2 separate regions of the Homo sapiens genome follow, and region 2 is linked to region 1. The links are contacts of gene promoters, found by promoter capture Hi-C in blood cells and fetal thymus (Javierre and others, 2016). All regions are on one chromosome and are shown on one strand. Each heading gives the region's core, a stretch centred on a gene start or on the middle of the fragment in contact. The rest is flanking DNA. Distances are from core to core; before and after follow the strand shown.

Region 1 (5,668 bases), core at 2,853-5,352:
GGCATGAGCCACCATGTTTGGCCACCAATCTTTTTAGAGGCCAGTTAGGCAATACAGAGCAAAAACATTTTTAATATGATCTTTGACTCATCAATTCCACTTCTTGAATTGTGTCTTCAGGGAATATAATCAGACAAATACACAAAGATGCTTGTATATGCACACTAACTGTGGAATTGTTTATGATGACAAAAAAATTGGAAACTACCTAGATGCCTGTCATGCCTGTCAATACAGAAATGCTTAAATAAATTATGGTATAGTTAGACACTAGAACTCTGTGCAGCTATTAAAAAAGGATTAGACAGATCTATTTGGGATGGCTTGGAAAGATGTCAACGATCTGTATTGGATGATGCCAGTTTTATATCTTAACAGATATACATGCGGCCAGGTGCAGTGGCTAACACCTGTAATCCCAGCACTTCGGGAGGCCGAGGTGGGCAGAATACTTGAGGTCAGGAGTTTAGGGCCAGCCTGGCCAACATGGCAAAACCCTGTCTCTACTAAAAATACAAAAAATTAGCCGGGCTTGGTGGTGTGCGCCTGTGATCCCAGCTACTCAAGAGGCTGAGGAGGAGAATTGCTTGAACCCAGGTGGTGGAGGTTGCAGTGAGCCGAGATCACACCACTGCACTCCAGCCTTGGCGACAGACGGAAACTTCATCTTAAAAAATATATATATATATATATTTATATATATATATATATACACACATACACATACATACACACAGAAAAAAACATATATAGGCCTAACTTTTTCAAAGTAGCTTTATTGAGGTATAATTTACAAAGCATATAATTCACCCATTCTAAGTGTAAAATCATCACCATAATCTAGTTATAAAACCCTTTTTTATTGTCCCCCAAAATTCTCTCATGCTCATGGGCTTAACTTTTTTTATTTGGCCATGTATTATGTTATTAAAAGGAAAAGCTTTTACAAGAGGCTCATTTCCATTTCTTTTTTTCATAATATATGAAAAAATTTATGATAATATTTCTATTTCTTTTTTTTTTTTTTTGAGACAGGGTCTAGCTCTGTCGCCCAGGTGAAGTGCAGTGGCACGATCTCAGGTCACTGCAACCTCCGCCTCCCAGGTTCAAGCGATTCTCCTGCCTCAGCCTCCCGAGTAGCTGGGATTACAGATGCATGACACCACACCCGGCTAATTTTTGTATTTTTGTTAGAGACGGGGTATTGCCATGTTGGCCATGCTCATCTCAAACTCCTGACCTGAGGTGATCCACCCACCTCAGCCTCTCAAATTGCTGGGATTACAGGTGTGAGCCCCCGTGCCCAGCCTATTTCTATTTCTTAATGGTGTCAGAACTTTATCTTTGCTTTGCTAGTGACTTTTTAAAAACCACTTATTGAATTATGATTGACATACAATAAGCTGCTCATACTTAATGTATATAACTAGATGAGCTGGGTGATAACTGTACATCACCACTGCCTATTACATAAACATATCCATCATCACAGGCTTAACTTTTAACAGTGGTTAGGTCGAGGGTAACTATGAGTAGGGGGGAAGGAAGGAGGACAGAACTATAGACAGCTTCCTAGTTTATAATTTCTGTATTATTTGAATTATTTACAACAAAAATATACTATCTTTCATTTTTATTTTTTCTTCGAGACAAGTTCTAGCTCTGTTGCCCAGGCTGACGTGCAGTGGCACAAACATGGCTCACTGCAGCCTCATCCTCTTGGGCCCAAGTGATCCTCCTGCCTCAGCCTCCCCAGTAGCTGAGACCACAGGTGAGTGCCACCATGCCCAGCTAATTTTTCTGTTTTTAATTTTTGGTAGATGTGATCTCGCCATGTTGCCCAGTCTGGTCTCAAATTCCTGGGCTCAAGAAATCCTCCCACCTCAGCCTGGGATTATAGGTGTGAGCCACCCCACCCAGCCAGTAATACACTATCTTTTAATTGACAAAATAGTAAAGTCTTTTCTATTTTGAAAAGAACAAAATAAGGAAACAGACATATACCCATTGACCGAAATCTACTTTTGGCAATTTATCCTAAGGAAATAATCAAATATGTGGAAAAAGATTTGTGTACAAAGATATTTATCCGTATTTTATTAAAAACAGAGGAATTATAATCTAAATATCTCATAATGGAAGAGAACAATTATTAATTGTATTGAAATATGCGAAGTGCAGGATGCAAACCTTTTTATGTAATACAACCTCAACCATGTTGAAAAAAGTTAATGCACAACCAAAAAAATCCTGTTTTGAAATATAAGTTCTTATCAATGGTTGTGTCTGGATAGTAGAATTATAGTACTTTTAATTTAATTTTATTTTTTAAGCATTTCATTTTCTCCATAAATGATAATAATTACAAATAATTATAGTATTGTTTTCACAGGTCTATACATTTGTCAAAACATATAAAAGTGCACACTTGCAGCAAACCACCATGGCACGTGTATACCTATGTAACAAACCTGCACGTTCTGCATGTGTATCCCAGAACTTAAAGTATAATTTTAAAAAAAAGCAAACAAGTACTAGCAAAAAAACCAAATGCACACTTTAAATATGTACAGTTTATTGTATATCAATATATTGCAATAACACTTAAAAAAATAGAAGGATCTCAAGGAATTGAATCATCTTAAGCGTCTTACTGGAAGGGGGGTTTTGCTATGCCATTTTGGGGCTGAAGGGCAAAATGACTGGGGGGGCAGACATTATATAAATAGCAATATATACATACATTGTCTCTGCTCCAGATACCGCCATTCATTCATTCATTCACCAGATCTGCCTTCCTATTATATGCCAGGAATGTTGCCGGGTACTTGGATATCTTGATGAACAACAAACCACTGGCCTGAAAGAGCTCCCGTCTGGTGGAGGAGGGGAAGGTAGGTCACCACCTGACGGATTCCAGCCAACGTCCACACTGCCCCACCAGGGAGTGCTGCCCAAGGGGGCTGGAGGCAGATCAGGAAGTGGGGGCCTTAGCTGAGGTGGAGTCACCAAGAGTGACACCAGGTTTACAGTTGTGGAGGTGGCCAGAAGTTAGTTTTACCCTCAAGGGAGTGTCGCAGTCATCAGTTGAGAAGTGGGGGCCCGGCGCGGTGGCTCACGCCAGTACTTTGGGAGGCCGAGGCGGGCGGATCACGAGGTCAGGAGATCGAGACCATCCTGGCTAACACGGTGAAACCCCGTCTCTACTAAAAATACAAAAAAATTAGCGGGGCGTGGTGGCGGGCGCCTGTAGTCCCAGCTACTCGGGAGGCTGAGGCAGGAGAATAGCGTGAAGCCGGGAGGCGGAGCTTGCGGTGAGCCTAGTTCGCGCCACTGCACTCCAGCCTGGGCGACAGATCGAGACTCCGTCTCAAAAAAAAAAAAAAAAAAAAAAAAAGAAAGAAAGAAAAAAAAGAGAAGTGGTCTTAAACAGTTTTTATGTATCTGTGTCTATCTTGCCTGCACACTTAAAACAACAAGAGTAAGAACTAAGATTGAGCGTTTACGGGTGCAGGGGCCGCGCAAAGGGCTTCCATCTATTGTCTCATTCACAACCTTCTGGTAGGGACTATTAGGATCTTCATTTTACGGCGAGGAAACCGAGGCTCGGAGAGGTCACCTGCCCAAGGTCACAGATCTCTCTCTCCAAAGCTCAAGCTCACAACCACCACACAAACTCCCCTCTCACTGTACCTGGGGCCCGTCTGAGAGCGAAAAAGTCCGCTTTCAGGTCCCAACCCTAACAGGTCCGGCTTTCACTCCACAGTTTTTCCCAGATCCAGAATGGAGACAACATCCGCTAGCACAATCAACAGGGTCGTCCCACGGGGGCCGCTCCATCAAGGCCGTGGACTGACAGGATTTGGGGCTTGGAGGGCAAATGAGAAACAATCGTCAGGGACCGAAGAACAAATGCGTCCATCACACCAGCCCCCCGCACCCCGAGCCCCGTGCTCCGCTCACGCGAACCCTCGGGGGCAGCCAGTCTGAGGGACGTAGCGCGCGTGCGCGGGGCCAGAGGGGACGCCCCCACGCGAGCGCGCGGTGAGCAGGGCGCGTGACCGGGCGGGCGCGCAGCCGGGAAAGCGCGCGGGCGCGCTACGGAGTCGGCGTCGGCGCGCGCTCCAGGCCGAGGCTGTGTGGGCTGGGGAGGGAGACAGGCGGCGGCGGCGGCGCCCCAGACCCGAGGGGACGCGCGGGCCTTGCGCCGCGGGAGCGGACGGCGGCGGAGGAGACCCTAGGCTCGCGGCCCGAGGCGGGAGGGCTCGGCTTCTCGACTGCCCGCCTCCGAGGCCGCCGGCCGCTTCTCTCTCCCAGAGTGGCCGCCGCCCCTGGAGACTCGCCGTGACACGGGCCTAAGCCGCCGCCGCGGGAGTCCTGACCGCTCGGACCCGTCGGATCAGGCCGGGTGGGAGCGAGCTTGCGGGCAGGTGCCGCTCCCGGAGGGTGGGCCGGAGGCGAGGCGCCCACCGCGCGGCTCGCGGGCCGGGCTCGGCGGAGGGGCCGCTCGCGCAGCACCCCCACCGCGGGCCGGAGCCCGGGTCGCCGCCCCGCCTTCTCCCGGGACCGCCCGGCCGGAGCTGCGGGGGCCGAGGGACGCCGCGCCCGCCGCCGCCAGCCGGGCTCGCGCGGGAGAGCAGGGAAGAGAAACTTTGCCTTTTATTGTTTTTAGTCCTTAAGTGCAAGGAACTCTGTGTTGGGAGGAAAAATGTCCTTCTTCAATTTCCGTAAGATCTTCAAGTTGGGGAGCGAGAAGAAGAAGAAGCAGTACGAACACGTGAAGAGGGACCTGAACCCCGAAGACTTTTGGGAGATTATAGGAGAACTGGGCGACGGAGCCTTTGGGAAAGTGTACAAGGTAAGAGGGGGAAAACGGGAAGTTGTACTGCGAAGGTAAAACAGCCACTGGCCTGGAGTGGCGGGAGGACTTCTGCTCCCCTGGTCCTTATCCTGTCCTTCTTTTGACTGTTACGGTTCGATGCAACTTTACTTGGCTGATCATCCAAGGAGTAGCTAAGAAGTCGGGTTTACGGTGGAACAAAATGGGGCCTGGATGGAGTTTAAAGAGCGATTGGAAAAGGAGACAGGGTTATAAAGTCTACTCTTTCAAACTTCAAAGGAAATGAGAGTGTTCTTTAATTTATAGGAGGGGTCTGGTTGTGCCCTTCAAGTATTTTAGAATGAGAAACTCATTGCACTTTGCAGTGGATTTGTCTACTGACTGCATTCGCGTGCATGCTTGTACTCCAACAGTTCTGTTTTTAGGGTCCAGTATATATATTTGGTTGTATCTAGAGCTAATACAGAACTAGTTGGGATCAAAGTGATTGCTACTTGCAGTCTCTTCTTGAGTTAGTTGCTTGACAGCATACTATAAAATAGAATGGAATTTCTGACAAAATTTCCAAAAAACCTTCATGTGGTACTAGTTTTAAATATATTTATGGTAAGCATTGACTAGAAGTCAGTATCAGCGCTTAAGCAGTTAAAAACACACACGCATGTATTTATTTCAATAGAAAGAGGCTTGGCGTTTCAACCTGAAGGCATTAATGTTAACTATTTAATATCTCCTAAGGAACATATGAATGATGTCATTGGAGTATTTTCATCCTGAAGGGCGAATTTTTTATGAGACAGCGTTTAGGGGAAGGACCCACAGGGTTGC
Region 2 (5,900 bases), core at 2-2,501, 110 kb after region 1:
GAACTCAGGTGTCTTCTTCTACGACTCCTTCTTGACCCTGAGCACTCTCTTGTGTTGACCTCAGCATTGCTGTATGTTCCTGGTCTCCCCTTGTCCCTAAAAGACTCTTCCTCCTCTCTCTGTTCTCTGGCTTTTCTTTCTCCTTATTCCCTCCGCTTTACCTTCCTTTGCTTCCTTCAACTTTTATACTCTCTTTCTTGGCAAACTCCTTTAGTCTTCTGACTTCCTCTAACACCTCTTTGCGAATGGCTTCCACCTGGGTATCTGGGCCCTGACTTCTTCCCTGAACTCAAATCCTGCATCACCCACTGCCTGCTTGCTACCCTCGCCAGAGAGCTGGGCAAGTGGCTGTGCTTCAGGATGAATTAGCTGGATTCATCAAGTGGAGTCATCCATCTAATTCCCTGTTTCAGTTGTTGGCACCACCAAGAACCCAACCTGTGTGTGAAGCCTTCTCCTTACATTTAATCAATTGCCAAACCTGTCAATTCCACCTCAGTGATAACTTTCACTTCTAGCTCCTGACCTCCATCATTACCAACCTGGTCCCAGCCAAAATGTCCCTTCTCTGGATGACCGAGGATTTCTTTTTAACTTGTCACTGTGTTTAGTCTCTTTCTCACCAATTTTTCCAACACATGGCTTCCAGAGTTCCAGTCCTGGACCTAAAATATGATTGTTTTGCTAAAAACTCTCTGTGGCTTCCCATTGCATATGGAATAAAGTCTAAACATCTTATCCTAGCACTGAATCTGAGTCCCTCAAACCTTTTGCACGTAAGTACCACTGAATTTCCGACTTAAGCCCTGGGCTCTCCTGGCTGTCTTTGCTTATGCTGCTGCTCCCACAGCTTGGACAGTCCCATCTCTCCATCTTTGGGTATCAAACTCTTACTCGTCATGAGGACCTCGCTCAGATGTCCCCTCCTCCATAGAATTTTCCCCGATTTCCTCAGCTTAAAGTGATAATCTCCATCTACTTTATACAATTGTATTTTATCTGTCATCTTAACTTGTCTATTAGACTACAGGTCCTGAAGACAAGATCTATGTCTGATTCATTTAAGCATTCGTCAAGGCATTCTACACAGTGTTAAACGCATAGCAGGTACTGGATAAAATACTAGTTGGAAAAGTAACTAAATGGGTGAATGAATAAATAAATGAGGTAGTGAATGAATGAATGAAGTCTTCAAGTAATGGAAGTCCATAAAAGAAATGAAGGAGGAGTGGGGAGAAAGGTGAAGGGCAGACACAGGTGGCCAGCATGTAAATCTTCAAAGAATGAGTGAAGTTGCTTGGGGAAGAGAATGGTTCTCTTGTATGGTTAGTGGGACTGATACCTTCATACGCATGGCGGGTAACGTGAGTTTTCCTTTCAAAGGTTGAGCCTGGGGAGTTGGGCAGAGTGGAGGCAGGTGAGTGAGCCCTCCTGTAACTAGAGGTGGAGGCATGGCCTCGTGTGCTTCCAGCTGCAAGAGGGAAAAAGCATAAGTTCTCAGTGCTTCAGCAGAGAGGTGAACCAAATGGCTACTGTGACCCAGCTATATTAACCAAGTACACTCAGGGAGGGTCTTCGGGAGGGCACAGCTGAAAGGGGCCACCTCAGCATTCCCCCAGCTGTTCACAAATGGAAAGGTGGAATTATTGCCTGGGAACGTCCTTCCTGTGCATGGTTACCATGCATGGAAATGGAAAGGATTTGGCAGGATTTTTCTTGTAGACACTGCTTGGATGGACTAGAATATAATCCAGCGTGGAAGTGTGCCTCAACAGGTAAGGGCAGGTGTTTCTTTTGGTCAACCTGGCTGTTCTAATGTCTTGGGGCTTCCTTTTTAGTCTTACTTCCAAGTATTTTAAATGGCTTCAGGGGCTATCTGGGTGCTTCTTGTTTTTGTTTTGTTTTTGCCTTGCTTTGCTTTGTTTTGTTTTAGTTTGAAAGAGTGCTTCACTGGGAACAATGGGCCTGTGTTGGATGCTTGCCCAGTGGAATCTTGCACAGCATGGGATCACATGTCACCAGCTTCCCTTAGCACAGTAACCCAATCGTTAAGTTTCTTTCGTTGTTAATTCAAATTGTAAACCCTCAGGCGTGCACATTGTTCTCTAAAGAGATGGCTTAAAGGGAGTGATTTAGTGAGGAAATAGCTACCTACCCATGAAGTCTTAATTAATGATAGTTATTTATATTGTGGACTTAATGAAAATGGATCTGATTTTAAGTAGGCTTCAAATGCTGATGATTTATAATTTGCACCCCCGGTCTCCAGCCCTGCTGCCCAATAGCTGTGTGTTATTTAGATAACTCTCAGGGGGATTTGGAATGGATGACAGGTGATTGTAATTGTCCCTTTTGTGCACTGATTCAAAATTGTGTCTGCCCTGTGTCCTGTGTAGGACTTTCTTGGTGTCTCTCTCTTTGTCACCCATTCTTCCCTGACCTCTTGCACTAGTGGGCACTCACTTGAGTTTATGTAGCCGCTGCTGCCATGAGTCAGGCTTTGTTTCTCCAGCCGGCTCCCTCCACCAAGAGAGGCTGTTTTAGCATAGCCATTGCTGGTCCCGCCTTCTGCCAGGAACAAAAGCAGGTGATAATTTCAGGGTGGAGTCAGGCCAGAGGATCCCCTGGTCCCCCACCCTGTGGAAGGCTTCCCTGGTTTTTCACCAGGACCTTCTTAGTTTGGGGTTCCTTTCCCACCTACATTATAAGATGCAAGCTGCCATGCTCCAGTTTCGTTGGTTTTTTGTTTTGTTTTGTTTTGTTTTGTTTTGTTTTGTTTTATACAAATATCTAGAGTGAGTATTCCACCTGATTTAAAAGAAAAGTCTCCTGGGTGGAATATAGCAAGTTGCATATTAGGAAATTTTAAATAGTAGAAAAGGCTGAGCGATGAAAGCTCCTTGAGTCCAGGACCTGGTTGGGCTTGCTTTTTCTGAGTGCCTGGTCAGTGCCCAGGCATGGCAGCCACTAGAAGTGCTGGAGGGGCGTGTGGCAGCTCTGTGTTGCTGGTGTTCCACCTGGCAGCCCATCACTGCTCCGACTTCACCTGCTGGTGGGTGGGCTCTCCCCATCCCCAGGGAACTAGGCTCCCTGGAGGCGGGGGCAGGGGGTAGCTTTTGGGCTCAGATCAATATTACAGGAGTGATAGGAGCTCCTGGAAAAAAAAGTAGCCTCAACCAGAAGCTTGACTGGTAGCCCCCAATCCTTGTTCAGGTTAGATCAGATATCCAATATTTTAGCATCTGGAATAGGCAAATCTACAGAGACAGTAGATTTGTGGTTTCCAGGGGCTGAGGAGAGAGGAGGGAGAATGAGGAATGACTGCTAATGGTCACTTCTTTTTGTGGAGCCATGGAAATCTTCTAAAATTGGACTGTAACCATGGCTGCATAACTTGGTAAATATACTAGCAATCACTGAATTATACACTTCAAACTGGCGAATTCTGTTGTATAGAAATTAATGTCAATATAGCTGTTAAAAAAGATGTCAAAAATTTTGGAGCTCCCATGGAAAAGGTTACAGGTGTGGGGCCCTTCAAATGTGACCTACTGAAAAGAAAGCTATTGAGGTAGTTACTTACTTGGTGGTAAGGATGTAAGTCTTGTGGTTACTGTTTCAGTGACAACTAGAAAAAGACAAAGAAAAGATGAGTTCTTATGTAATGCACTGACACCTCTGGATCTTGGCAAGGTCTAAGCTCTGTCACAGGCTAAGCATATTAAATTAGGTTCGACATTGATTTTTCTATCCTTGTGCTTTAAGGTGTGTGATCTGACCCACTGTGCAAAAAGATATGAGCAACAACAATGGGTTTCATATGCTTGGAAAATAAGTTTATATCTCTTTGGAGCCAAAAGAAGTTATGCACTGCGTTTGAAACATGAGTTGTTTTGCTGTTGATGTCTCTCCTTGGACAATTAGATCCAGTCCAGGCCTGGTCTGAGGTTGAAGGAGGACCAGGCCCTCTTGTCTCAAGTCACTCCGTTTCTCTGCATTTCTCCTTCCCCATGGTCTCTCAGTTCAGCTGAGACCAACACCCTAGCTGACTTCACTGTGTACTTCTTCATGAATTTGGAGGTGTTTAAGAACATTATGTTTCGTTCTAATGTCTTCAGGGCAACCCCTGAATGTGGGGAGTTGTGGGAAGGAAGGGTGCTCCTGGTAAGTCACATTTGGGGTTTGGCAAAATCAGTGATCCAGGCACATCACAGACAGACTTGAAGAACCAGTCCCTTGGCCTCTGAAATTTAGTTCCTGTAGGTCTGAGAGATGGTGAATCCATCACTCATGCTCTGACTGTGGCCCTCAGCACTACCTCCGTCTCTGGTGGGTATACAGAAGACCCTACCTATCTGGGGCTTTTGTTCTTTGATATCAGGTTTCCAGTGTGCTTGTATGCATGCATGCATGTGTGTATGTGTGCATGTATGTGTGTGTGTGTGTGGCATGCATGGGCACATACGTGTGGGGAAGGTGGTGAAAGGAGAAAAGAGTAAAGGAAGATGGTGCAGGATCATTTTGTGCTACTTTCAGCTGTGCCGCTGACACCTGCTCCATCCCACATGACTCTCATTCACACTGTCCTTCTTCATACTGCATTTTGCTAATTAGTTTGGTTGTCCTAGCAAGAAGATGCGGTTATGGACATGCCAGAAACAGTACTTAATGCATAAAAGGAAATGTTGGCTGGGCGCAGTGGCTCACGCCTGTAATCCCAACACTTTGGGAGGCCGAGGCGGGCAGATCACGAGGTCAGGAGTTTGAGACCAGCCTGGCCAACATAGTGAAACCCCGTCTCTACTAAAAACACAAAAAATTAGCTGGGTGTGGTGGTGGGCACCTGTAATCCCAGCTGCTCGGGAGGCTGAGACAGGAGAATGGCTTGAACCTGGGAGGTGGAGGTTGCAGTGAGCCAAGATTACGCCACTGCACTCCAGCCTGGGCAACAGAGCAAGACTCCGTCTCAAAAAAAAAAAAAAAGGAAATGTTTTTGTAGAGTGCAGTGGCAGCTTGATTTGAATAATAGTCCTTCAGCTTTCATTGTATAGAACCTCTCATTGTATAGACCTTTGGGATTCTTTGACACATAAAAGTGAATTATTTCCTAACTAAAACTTTCAAGTCTATGGAGCCAGAATTTTTTTTTTATTGGAGATATATGAAAGTCACAGAATAAGTGAAAGAGTTTCCTGACTTAGAGTTGGTAGGAGGAGAGTTTAAATGTTTCTGAATTTATTATTTGGGCAGTTCCACAAAATAAATTTATTTGTTTTCAATTTTCAGCGTAGAGGTCAACTATGATACAATAACTAGGATGTTATTCGTTTAGATTTCTGTTGCCCTGTACCCCTAAATTTGGAAATGATAAAATAAACTATGGTGAATTCATTTAGCAGAATCCTATCCCATCATTAAAAATGAGGGTTATAAATACTGTACATGGAAATGACAACCTTCATCATTCAAGAAAAAGCAGGATATCTTTTGACATAAAAATCAACAAGAGCTGTCTTATGAGAAGGATTAAAGTCCATTTAGGAACACACTTAAACATGATACAGTGGTTGTGGTAGAATTATTAATGAATTACTTATTCTGTTTCCAAATTTTTATTACTTTCATAATAAAACACATAAATTAAAAAATTCTGATGCTCTTACTTCTCTCAGTGACTTCAGTTCCATCTCGTTTGTTTTTCTTGGTTACATCCATACCATAGCCACCTGCAGGAAAAATCAGAAACCATGATAGTCATACTTATCATTGTTTTTAGTAATTATAGGTCCCCACTGTTGAAGCTGATAACCAAAAACATGATTTCAAGAATTTAAACCATAATTCTTTCACGTGAATATTTTTTATGAGTCATTCCCATTTCTTGTAACAGGTATAATAGA

What was found. The method cuts DNA at HindIII sites, captures the fragments that hold promoters and counts their contacts. A CHiCAGO score of 5 or more calls a contact.
Region 2: a contact is called between a fragment that was not itself captured here and the fragment with the promoter of SLK in region 1, in 1 of 17 cell types (activated CD4 T cells). The highest score is 5.0, in activated CD4 T cells.

The regions. Positions count from the first base shown.
Region 1 is chr10:103,963,038-103,968,705 of GRCh38, forward strand. It overlaps SLK (STE20 like kinase), which reads left to right and starts at 4,103. Exons shown (of 19, transcript NM_014720.4): 1 at 4,103-4,858. The coding sequence starts at 4,709. LOC102724351 (a long non-coding RNA gene) reads right to left here and starts at 4,008. Exons shown (of 5, transcript XR_007062282.1): 1 at 2,744-4,008. RefSeq lists silencers at 3,965-4,424, 4,465-4,514, 4,525-4,624. The HindIII fragment of the contact is 5,644 bases long and covers 939-5,668 here.
Region 2 is chr10:104,074,959-104,080,858 of GRCh38, forward strand. It overlaps COL17A1 (collagen type XVII alpha 1 chain), which reads right to left. Exons shown (of 56, transcript NM_000494.4): 2 at 5,664-5,726; 3 at 3,584-3,628; 4 at 2,464-2,568; 5 at 1,343-1,471. The coding sequence starts at 5,715. Among named protein-coding and RNA genes, the nearest start is that of COL17A1, 8.0 kb to the right of the region's middle. The HindIII fragment of the contact is 3,859 bases long and covers 1-3,181 here.